Linked DNA regions of Homo sapiens: regions 1, 2 and 3 are each linked to region 4. The links are contacts of gene promoters, found by promoter capture Hi-C in human tissues and cell types (Jung and others, 2019). All regions are on one chromosome and are shown on one strand. The core of a region is centred on a gene start or on the middle of the fragment in contact, and the rest is flanking DNA. Distances in the headings are between cores, read along the strand shown.

Region 1 (2,700 bases), core at 52-2,551, 53 kb before region 4:
TGCAGGTCTCTACCCCTTCACAATGTTATAATGCAGGTCTCTACCCCTTCACAGGGGTTATAATGCAGGTCTCTACCCCTTCACAGGGGTTATAAAGCAGGTCTCTACCCCTTCACAGGGGTTATAATGCAGGTCTCTACCCCTTCACAGGGGTTATAATGCAGGTCTCTCTACCCCTTCACAGAGGTTATAAAGCAGGTCTCTCTACCCCATCACAGGGGTTATAATGCAGGTCATTTCTTCGTCCTTTGGCCACTACTTTGTGGAAGGTTAGATCTGAGCGGGACCTTGGAGCTCATCTAATGCCATCACATCACCTCACACAGAGGTTCTCAACATAGGGAGGTGATGTGTCAGGTCTCAGAGAAAAGAAATGGTACAGGCGCAGTGGCTCATGCCTATAATCCTAGCTACCCGGGAGGCTGAGGTGGGAAGATCGCTTGTGGCCAGAAGTTCAAGACCAACCTGAGCAACATGGCAAGACCCCCATCTCCAAAAGTAAAAGATAAAAATAAATTGAGCATGGTGGCACATGCCTGTAGTCCTATCTACTTAGGAGGCTGAGGCAGGAGGAATGCTTGAGCCCAGGAGTTTGAGGCTACAGTGAGCTATGATCACGCCACTGCACTCTAGCCTCAGTGACAGAGTGAGACCCCATCTCTTAAAAATAAAAATAAAAAAACAAAATGGGCCGGGCACGGTGACTCACGCCTGTAATCCCAGCACTTTGGGAGGCCGAGGCAGGCGGATCACCTGAGATCAGGAGTTCAAGACAAGCCTGGCCAACATGGAGAAACCCCGTCACTACTAAAAATATAAAATTAGCCAGATGTGACAGCGCATGCCTGTAATCCCAGCTTCTCAGGAGGCTGAGACAGGAGAATCCCTTGAACCCGGAAGGCGGAGGTTGCAGTGAGCCGAGATCACACGATTGCACTCTAGCCTGGGTAACAAGAGCTAAACTCCGTCTCAAAAACGAAAACAAAACGACACAGTCATCTCCAGAACTCAGGACTCCCCACTCCTTGTATGACGCTTTTTCTACTGTACCATGCTCACCCTTACCCAAATCAAATCGGCCCTTATTCTATCTACTTTCTGCAAACAAAACACAAAACAACATGTACCAAACATCCTGCACACGGAACTGAAACTACACGTCCATATGTGAGAAAGGTCCCTCCATGGACCCTCCTACTTGACAAATGCTTTGTTTCTTGAGAGAAGTGCGCAGCGGGGACTATAAAAGCTTAGGTGAGACTGGTATACCGGGAGATAAAAAACACAAAGGACACTGCAGACTCGACTGCTAACTGGAAAACAAAACACCCATCTGCTCGATTACACCTGGAAGAGGAACTAAAAATGTGTTCACCTGAAAGAAGTACTTGGGCACCACAGCGAAGAGGCTGGCCTCCAGTGCAGTGCTCAGGCCAGTGCTGCTCCCGACTACAGTGGAGTCTTCCTGACTGCAGCAGCAGCAGTCCCCAGATAAGCCCATTCCTGTGGAGTTAGAACCCTGGGCCTGAGCCGGATAAAGGATGACAGTGTGATTCAGATCGGAATACCACTCAGCATGCTGCCACTCTCCTCTATAATATCCCGTGTCCTTCACACCAGGAATGACATAAGGGAAAACAAAGTCGGATACCATTTAGCGTCCCAGAATGGGAGGACATCAAGAGACAGGATCAGCCGGGCGCGGTGGCTCACACCTGTAATCCCAGCACTTTGGGAGGCCAAGGTGGGTGGATCACGAGGTCGGAAGTTCAAGACCAGCCTGGCCAACATAGTGAAACCCCATCTCTACTAAAAATACAAAAAATTAGCCAGGCATGATGGTGCATGCCTGTAATCCCAGCTACTCGGGAGGCCAAGGCAGGAGAATCACCATTGCACTCCAGCCTGGGTGACAGAGCAAGACTCCGTCTTGAAGAAAAAAAAAAAAGGATCACTGAGGATTATCTTCCATGTAAAATAACATTCCTTCTAATACCGTGTTACAAGTGGATATTTCTAGCTTCCACATCTTACGCTCCTGCCTCTACCTCCCTGAAAAACAAAGAAATATTTCTGACTCTATTATTCCAGTAATTGAGTTAACTAAGAGTCACTGTCAAGCCCAAAAATATTTTTTTCCCTAACTAGAGTTCACACCTTGGGGGTACTTTCCTTTTCTCTACCATTTACAGTCAATAGAGGCTTCAGGTTTAGGGACATGAAAGACTATTTCGCCAAACCGAGTACATTCCCACCTCAAATGCACAGAGCAAAGCCAGGGAGAAGAGATAACGTTTGTATTTACAGGTGGAATCAGGGAAGAACAGCAGACACCCTCTCTCCAGTGGCCACTGAGATAGAGACGGGACAAACCAAACTTAGCAGAGGCAAGATAACCCAATCAGGAGAAAAGCAGAACACTATACATTTCCCCACACATAACAATGTCTCTTGTTTTAACTCTTTACTGAAATATTTACAATAGGGAGAGCCACTGGACACATGTGCCCTCTAAATGATCCTTGAGTGTGATGCAGCAGGGCCAGAAGGGCACCTCCTCACTCAGGGCAGAAGCAGCCTCCCTGGACCATTTTAGTCCTTGGTGCCCTTCTGATGACTGGTGAGAGCAAGGTGGTGCTACAGATGACAGAACAGAGCGTGGGTTTTAGAGTCAGAAATCCTGAGATACAGAACTTGCCT
Region 2 (2,700 bases), core at 67-2,566, 37 kb after region 4:
TTGGAACAGCCCGCAGGTGGATGCTGATTCTGCTGAGGGGAGGAATCTATGCCCAGAATGTAAAATAAAACACACAACCTGACAAGAGGAAAAGAAAAGAGAGAAAGAGAAGGTCAGAAAAATAGACCCATCGTCTTACAGCAGCTGCTAAAATAAAGCTTGGAAGGCCATAAAAACTGGCAGGCAGCTGAGGTCAGGATGGCAAAGGTTGAATGCCCGATTCTGGCCTGTTCCATACGTCCTGTTCACAGGGTCCGGTGGTGGCAGGGCAGGGTGTGGGACAGCAAGAGGGAGGGATTATCCCTGGGAGCCCAAGCCTCTTGCTATTATTTGGGCTTTTCCAAAACAGATGGCTGAGACCCCAGATACTCTCCATGTGTACAGGGATCCTTTAGTGACTGGGGTCAGAGTCATTACATGCCAACACATGTGTGTGCACATGGAGGTAAGTACATGAGGAGGTGCTGGCAACACCATCCAGAAGAGCGGAGTCTAAGAACTTCCTGAGGGTCCGTCAGCCAGGGCTGGGCCCTGGGAGCGGTTATTACACAGAATGACGCCATCCTAACTGCAGGTGAGCAGAATGAAGAGATGAGCACCTTTAATGATAGCAGTGAGGGGTGTGTAAACATATCTCCAAACTCATCAAGTTGTATGCATGAAATAGGCACAGCTTTGCATATGCCAATTACACCTTAGGGTTTAAAAAAAAAGAAAAGAAGGAGGAGCAGGACACACCAGCACCTGGGAGGGGCAGGACACACCAGCACCTGGGAGGGGCAGGACACACCAGCACCTGGGAGGGGCAGGACACACCAGCACCTGGGTGTTCCGAAAAGGATGCAGGCTCCTTGGCCCCCAGGACAAACACACACACACACACACACACACACACACACACACACACACACAGAGAGAGACACCCCAGCACCTGGGTGTTCCGAAAAGGATGCAGGCTCCTTGGCCCCCAGGACAAACACACACACACACACACACACACACACACACACACACACACAGAGACACCGTGTGTGTATATGTGCATGTGGCCAGATTTTGGAACAGGATACACAAGAAACTAGCAGCCTCTGGGGAGGCAGCGAGTCCTAGAGTGTGGTGTAGGAAGACTTCCTTTCCCTGTATAGACCCCAGCACTGTCTGAAGTGTTTTAAACTATGGATGTCCTTTCCAATAAAGGAAACAGGACCCCACAAATTAGGGACAAATATTCGACACTCAGTTGCCTAGATCGCGTGAGGGCAAGGAGTTCTAACATGCACTTTCTAGGCCATGAGGCCTCTGTTGATGGGAACTCTGGCTTTGGGAACAGCCTTGGCCATGACATTAAATGCCATGATTGGCATCAGGCAAGTGGACGCGCCTATCTCCCCAACCAACACTTCACATACAGGTTACCTGACGGTTAAGGACACATATTCCAAATTCAGGCTGCCTGTGTTCAAGCCCCATGACCAGGGTGGGCTGCCTGATGTCTCCATGCCTCAGTTTCCTCTTATGAAAATGCCTCTGGGGTGATGGCAGTGACTGCCTCAGGGGGCCTGAGTAGGGAATGCATAAAAGAAGGTACATCCAGAGCTCTGCACGGGCTTGGCCGTGTGATGATGACTGCCCATTCTGCTGCCATGAGCGCTGGGGTGATGTCCAGAGGAGGTGTCCTCAGAGGGAAATACACAATTCATCTCACACCTCTGCTGCAGCCATGGGCAGCACCGACCAACAGGCCTGGTCTGTCCATCCCATGCCAACTCTGGCTTCGCCTGCCTCCCTTGTGGCACTAGTTGCTGCCCTCAGCTTTGGCCCAGCTCAACTCCACCCCTTGTTTCTACAGTACCCAACTCCTGGCCTGCTGGGCCTAACCTGCCCCAAACCAACCTCTCTGGGAGGAAGAAAGAGTTTGCCTGGGCTCTGAACTACTTTGACTGCACATGTGTCACTGGGGCCTACAGTCTGCGTCTGCCCCAGGCCTTCTGGACCTTTTTTTTTTTTTGAGACAGGGTCTTGCTCTGTTGCCCAGGCTGGAGTGCAGTGGCATGATCACGGCTCACTGCAGCCTCGACCTCCCAGCACAATCAATCCTCCCATCTTGGCCTCCCTAGGACCTTCTGTTCTTTCAAGCACAGGGGACAGCTGGGCTGGCACCTACCTGAGAAGGTCAATGTCCGTGTAGCCATATTTAACCTTGTAATCCCCGATCCGCCGGGTGCTCTCCTGCCCACAGATGATCCCCACCTGCTTGATCTTTCCAGCATCCAAGCCTACGGAGGGAAACAGTGCAACAATCCTGCTTCTTGTTCACAAAGAGGAACAAAAAGAAGGGGACAGAGACACAGTCATGGGAAGAAGGCAATAAGGACCCACTGAATAGGAAATGAAGACAACACCAGGGCACCTGGGAGAGCAGCTGACCCAAAGTCCCTGGTGTCCTCAGTCCCCACGCCCATCACGACACACCTCACTCAGAGCCCGTCCTCCAGGCACCACCTGGCACGGAGCAGCTTGCCTGCCGTCTCCCTGCCCATCCCGTGTGCCCCACATCTGCCTGGAGCTCACTGGGAAGGGAAGGAGCAGCTCAGCAGCAGCTGGGCTCCCTGGACTTCTTTGGCCTCTTTCAGTCTCCACCAATAACAGTAAGTGTCTTCTGTGTGCCAGGCACTCCAGGAAGCATTTCACATGCACTAA
Region 3 (2,700 bases), core at 128-2,627, 34 kb before region 4:
TGGATAAGGCCAGCCATGCTTCCCGGATGCTTGGCATGGACAGGCCTCCTTGGGTCTAGGGGTCTCAGGGCCAGTTATTCCCGGGGAGAAAGGTGGACATGGGACATGGCAGCAGTGTGCCGGTGGTCACATTCAGCTTGGTTTCCCTTCATATTGAGGGAGTGGCCCTGGGTTCTTCTGCCCCCACCAAATTCCCAGTGTATGCTGTGATGATATGTGAAACTCTTCAATCCTGTGCCCTGGCCCCCAGCCCTCTGACAGCTGCCCTCTCCACCGATGGCCAGGCCTTCACTCCTGCTGCTGTGAACAGGACCTGCCCCACCAGGTCTGTGAGGAAGGCAGAGCCTGGCAGCTCTGAGCTGCTCCTATCTTCCTTCGCTTAGCCCTGAGCTGGTGCCCTGGAGGGGCATCCCATAGCAACTGAGGATGCCAGGGGCGTGGGGGTGGGAAAGCTGCCAAGGAGGGAGGCCCCAGGCCAGGGCCTGGGCATGATCAGGAGCCCTGAGACTCCCTGTCCATGGGGTGCAGCCTGGCCTAGATTGACCCAGAGCCATAGGGACCCCGAGTGTTTGAGCCACCTCTCAGCCCCAAGAGCAAACAGAAAGGAAGGCTGCTGTGACTTCAAAGGAGTTCCATGGGGGGCAGTCCCCTAGATGGGAGCAAAGTGGCTCAGAGCCCCTCAGCCCACTTCACGCTTGCCCACCAGCGGCTCCTCTGAGGCCAGCTCCCCACACCATGCCCTCACTGGGCACTTAACCCAGACAGTGCTGTCGCAAGAAGATGCCCTCCTCTCCTGGCCCATCAGGAAACCCCCAACCATAAGACATCTGGAGAAAGCCCCACTGGAGGTGGGGGGGAGGGGACAGGTGGGATGATGCGGCTGGGGCCGAGAGGGGCTGGGGAGGTAGTGGGCTCTCAGCTGCACAGCCCTCAGGTCAGGATTCTCATTCCTCAGACTGAAAGACAGACAGACAGACAGACCCTGCATCCCCTTTAGCTTTGCTTTCTAGGCTCCCCAAGGGCTTTCTGCCTCAGTCATTTTGGGGAGCTGCAGGAGGTGTGGCCACAGGCCCGAGGAAGAGGCCAGGCCTGGGCCTGGCCTCTTCCATCCATACACAAGCATGTATTTACAGGGACACAGCAATACAGACATGTACAAATACACACCAAGCATGCACCCATGCCCATAAATATACACACACACACGCACAAACATGAGCCATTCCACAGGCCAACTCTGCAAACCGGCATCATTGGGTAGCGTCTGAGGGGCCGAGGGGAGGGGGTGTTTCCCCTTCCCACAGAGCTGCAAGCTCCTCACTGCCCCCAGCCCTGGGCTGCACAGTGAGGGAAACAGGAGCAAGCTGTTCCGGAAACTCTGACAATGAGAGCTGGATCCGACGACTGAGTTATTGCTGCTCCCTCCCCCTCTCCCAGAGATGCTACTGGTCCCCCATATCCATTCTCTTCTCCTCCATCAATAAGATAACTCCCAAGGTGAGGCCAGGCACATGGCGGCCCCGCTGAAGACTACACTTCCCAGGTTCCCTAGCAGCTGCTTGTGGCCATGTGACTGAGTCCCAGCCAATGAGAGGCCAGCAGAGGTGAGCCTGCCAATTCTGGCTCATGCCTTTAGCAAAAAGTGGGTGTGCCCTCTTGTCTATTTCTGCTTCCCCCAGGCTTGGATGCACACAGGAGGGTGGGCGCTGGAGCAGCCGCTGTGTACCCAGAATTGGAAGGTGCGTATGAAGAAACGCAGAGCTGCCCTACCAGCTCTGGGCCATCTCAATCTAGACTAATTAGAAACAAGCTTCCATCTTGCTTAAACCACTGTATTTCAGGGTCTCCTAATCACAGCAGCTCAGAATCAACTCCAACAAAGACATCCCCACCAAGGCAAGCTATGAGGAACAGGAAGCATACAACTGGCCTTATTGTCCCTTTTTGGGCCCAAGACAGCCTCATGGCCCCTTTCTGGCCCCCAGCCAGCCTGCCCCAAGGAAGGGCACAACAGTGACTGCACCTGGGACAGTGGACAGCTGGGACTGGGTGTCAGAAGGAAGGGGTGATGGGGAGGGAGAGACGGATCCGTGCAGAGGACTCATGTCAGTCTTCTCCTCCCCACTTCCCCCTCAAGGCCACACCTACAACTGGACTCTTGGCCTTGCAAGGACTGAGTGCACAGTCCACAAGACAGCAATGTGAAAGGGAGAAGGAACGTCAACGCCGGGTTTAGAACCAAAAGGAAAGCTCCTCAGGGTTCTCCAGGCCCCTGTGTTGGCTCACGACAGCCTGAGGGGTGCACAGAGACAGACTCAGGCACCAGCATCCCAGGGCAGCCAGGTCCTGTCCTTTGCGGCAGGGGGTGGAGTTCTGTCTCCATCTGGCCCAGCACTTCTGACTACACTGCAAAGCATCCCTCAGCACCTCCTCTTGGTAGGATGTGGCTTTTTCATCTCTTCCCTACGAGGTGTCCACGCTTCCTCCTGGACCCAAATGCATCTACTTACAGAGCCCTGGGTCCTCCTGGCAGGCCGGTCTCCCACACGGAGCCCAAGGCCCAGGGATGCCAAATGGTGGGCTTTTTCCCGGCCTGGCCACCCCCCAGAGGCTGCCTGGTGAGATCCTGCAGGCTCTCTTCCCCAATCCTGCCTACCCTCCCCCGCTACCCAGGGACCACCACGCACACTCCAGTGGCAC
Region 4 (2,700 bases), core at 195-2,694:
AGGCGAATCTGGACTGGTGTGTCCCAGGAATGAAGTGGGGAACCAGGGAGGAATCCCACTGGGGTAGTGTGTCTGCCCACACCCCATCAGGGGCCTTCAGGGGCATCTTCCGGGGCTGGGGGTCATCCGACCTCAGACCACTAGGTCTGGCCGCGCGGCATCCCTTCCTGCTGCACCCCAGCTCAGGAACCCCACCATACACACACCCAGGCGCACTCCCCTCCCCACTCCCGGTTCCAGAACTCACTATTTGCAGATATTTATAGCGCCCTCCCTCAGCCAGGTTCCCTCCCCCGCCCTGGGCAGAGCAATGCAAGGAGCCGGGGGCCCCCACCCCGGTAAATGGCCGGGGGCCCTCTCCACATTTGCCTCTGCCTGGTCCCCAGGGGTAGCTACGGCCGCAGCCCCCGCACCCGCCCAGCCCCCGACTGCGCTTGGGCCTCGGCTGCCGCCGCCGCAGTCTGGGGTCGGGGGTGGGGAAGGCGGGCGCGGAGGCCTCCCACCCCAGCCCCGCGCCGCGCCGGAGGTTGTGGGGGAGCCGCGCCGGAGGCTGGGGGGTGCCGCGCACAAAGCACGGCTCGAGCCCCGCGCCTCGGGGACGTCCCCCGCCCGGCCGTGGGAGGGGGTCGGGCGCTGAGGCTCTGCCCTCCGGGGACCGGGGAGCTCGGAGGAGCGGCGGGTAGGGGGAGGGGGCCCGCGCCGAGCGGCTTCCCCGGCATCCCGCCCCCACCGCGGCCTCCGGGCCCCCAGCCCCAGTGCGCCCGCGCCCGCCCCCTAAGGTCACGCTCGGGGAGTGGGCCGCGGAGCCGGGCGGGGGGCGCCAAGCGCAGCGCGGGAGGGCGGGCAGCGCGGGGATAGAGGGGCCGCGGCGCCCCCCAGGACGCCGGGGTCAACTCACCCATCGCCCGCTGGGTCTCAGCAACGGCGGCAGCAGCGGCGGCGGCGGCTCCGCGGCCCCCGGGGTCCCCGGCGGGGAGATGCTGGCGTCCGCCGCAGCCTCTCGCCCCATCCCGGGCTCCGGCGGCAGCGGCTGCGGCGGGCGCCCGGCATCGCAGGCAGCGCGGCCCCGGCCCGGCCCCGATCCCCTCCCCCCACCCCCACTTCCACCCCGTCCCGGGGACCCGGCGCGGCCGCTCGGCTGCACCCCGGGGCGGCGGCGGGGGCCCGGCGAGCGGACGGGCGCGGGGGAGGGACCGCGGCGGGCGCGCGGGGGGCGCGGAGGCGAGGCCGAGCGCGGCGCGCAGGGGTGCCCGCTCCCGCCGGCTCAAGCGGCTCCGGCCCCCACCCCGCCCCCTCCGCAACCCCCTCCCCTCCCCCGCCAGCCGGGCTCCGCCGCCGCGCCGGGCCGGGGGCGCCTCGCACCGCAGACTCCGGCCGCCGCCGCCCCGCGCCGCCCGCGCGTGCTGGATCGAGTGTGTGCGTGTGCGAGCGAGTGTGTGTGAGTGCGAGTGTGCGCGCGCCCCTCCTGTGACCGTGCGTGCGCCGGCCCACGGCCCGGGGCGGCCTGCGCGGGGGCGTGTGCGGGGAATGCGGGTAGTTCGGAGTGCGGGCCTGGTGTGCGTGCGGGGCAGCAAGTCCCGTTCTGTGTATGCGTGGACGGGTGCGTTCCGCAGCGTGCCCGGGTCGGTGTGACTCCGTGTGCCCGAGTCTGTGCCTGTGTGTGCATGGACGTGCAGATCCGTGTTGCGGTGTGTGCGTGGATGCGCCTGTGCCCGCGTGAACCTGGGCCGGGATTTCGCATAGGCATCTGTGACCATGTGCAGAGGCCTGGGCCTGTGATGTGTGCACGGTGCCGGGCCTGTTACGGTGTCTGCAGAGTCTGTGTGTCTGCTTGGGGCGTGGGTGACCGCTGTACACCGGCCTGTGTCCTTCCGTCCGACCCCCTCCGTCCCTCACATGCCCGAAGCCACCTGCGCACTCCTGGGGTAACTGGGGGGGCCTCCCCTCCCCCGCCCCCCTCACCCGGCCACCCTAGGCCCGGTCGGCCCTGCCAACCCTCTTGAGCCTACTCTCCTGCCACTTGCCCACCAGCGGTTCTCCGAGGGCCCACCGTGTCGTGCCCTGGCTCCTCGTGGCCTTGCTCTAGGCCATTCCTCTCAGGGCTCAGAGGCGTCCCCCACGTGTTTCCCGCCTTTCAAGTGGTTCCGTTCTGGGGCCTACAGAGCAGCCACTTCCTCCCGCGGTGCGAGGCACAAGGCATTGTGGGTACGCAGCAGACATCTCTGCGCCGCCATCGTCGAAGGTGCAGGGATGCGCTACCTATTCTATATCCCAGCGAATGTGCTCCAGAATAGTCCCAGAGGCCTTTGCTGAACCATCCGGGCTGCCTAGGGCTGGTCTACCTGCTCCAGGTGCCTCCGTGCCCAGCTTCATCCATCCTTGCTGAGGAGGCAGAGTGATCCTACTCCAACATTCACTTGAGCAGGTCACTCTCCTGCCTGCACCTTCAATGGCTCCCACTTGCCCTCAGCTTAAGTTCAGTGCCTGGGCGGGGCACAGGGAGCCCCTGGTGACCTAGTCTTGCCCCCTTCTTCAACGTCACCCTCACTGCTCTTTTCTTCCTGGAGGCTCTCTCTAAGCAAGGGTGGGCAAACCATTTGCTTTAAGAGATTGATTGTAAATCTTTTAGGCTTTGCCAGCCATATGGTCTCTGTCCCAACTACTCAACTCTGCCATCGTAGCATAAAATCAACCATAGAC

Evidence for each region. Contacts are between HindIII fragments. The study calls those that stand out against the background at their distance.
Region 1: a contact is called between a fragment that was not itself captured here and the fragment with the promoter of MGAT3 in region 4, in 5 of the 25 tissues and cell types used here (IMR-90 fibroblasts, bladder, dorsolateral prefrontal cortex and 2 more).
Region 2: a contact is called between a fragment that was not itself captured here and the fragment with the promoter of MGAT3 in region 4, in 5 of the 25 tissues and cell types used here (IMR-90 fibroblasts, mesenchymal stem cells, mesendoderm cells and 2 more).
Region 3: a contact is called between a fragment that was not itself captured here and the fragment with the promoter of MGAT3 in region 4, in 7 of the 25 tissues and cell types used here (H1 embryonic stem cells, IMR-90 fibroblasts, heart left ventricle and 4 more).

The regions. Positions count from the first base shown.
Region 1 is chr22:39,508,247-39,510,946 of GRCh38, reverse strand. All of the region lies in intron 2 of MIEF1 (mitochondrial elongation factor 1), which reads right to left. Among named protein-coding and RNA genes, the nearest start is that of MIURF, 5.4 kb to the right of the region's middle. RefSeq lists an enhancer at 1-371. The HindIII fragment of the contact is 6,788 bases long and covers 1-2,700 here.
Region 2 is chr22:39,419,095-39,421,794 of GRCh38, reverse strand. It overlaps TAB1 (TGF-beta activated kinase 1 (MAP3K7) binding protein 1), which reads right to left. Exons shown (of 11, transcript NM_006116.3): 7 at 2,165-2,276. Among named protein-coding and RNA genes, the nearest start is that of TAB1, 21 kb to the right of the region's middle. The HindIII fragment of the contact is 5,458 bases long and covers 1-2,700 here.
Region 3 is chr22:39,489,215-39,491,914 of GRCh38, reverse strand. It overlaps MGAT3 (beta-1,4-mannosyl-glycoprotein 4-beta-N-acetylglucosaminyltransferase), which reads right to left. Exons shown (of 2, transcript NM_002409.5): 2 at 1-2,700. Among named protein-coding and RNA genes, the nearest start is that of MIEF1, 12 kb to the left of the region's middle. RefSeq lists an enhancer at 1,437-1,731. The HindIII fragment of the contact is 7,379 bases long and covers 1-2,700 here.
Region 4 is chr22:39,455,756-39,458,455 of GRCh38, reverse strand. It overlaps MGAT3 (beta-1,4-mannosyl-glycoprotein 4-beta-N-acetylglucosaminyltransferase), which reads right to left and starts at 1,444. Exons shown (of 2, transcript NM_002409.5): 1 at 899-1,444. RefSeq lists silencers at 319-448, 459-728, 1,459-1,518. The HindIII fragment of the contact is 12,980 bases long and covers 1-2,700 here.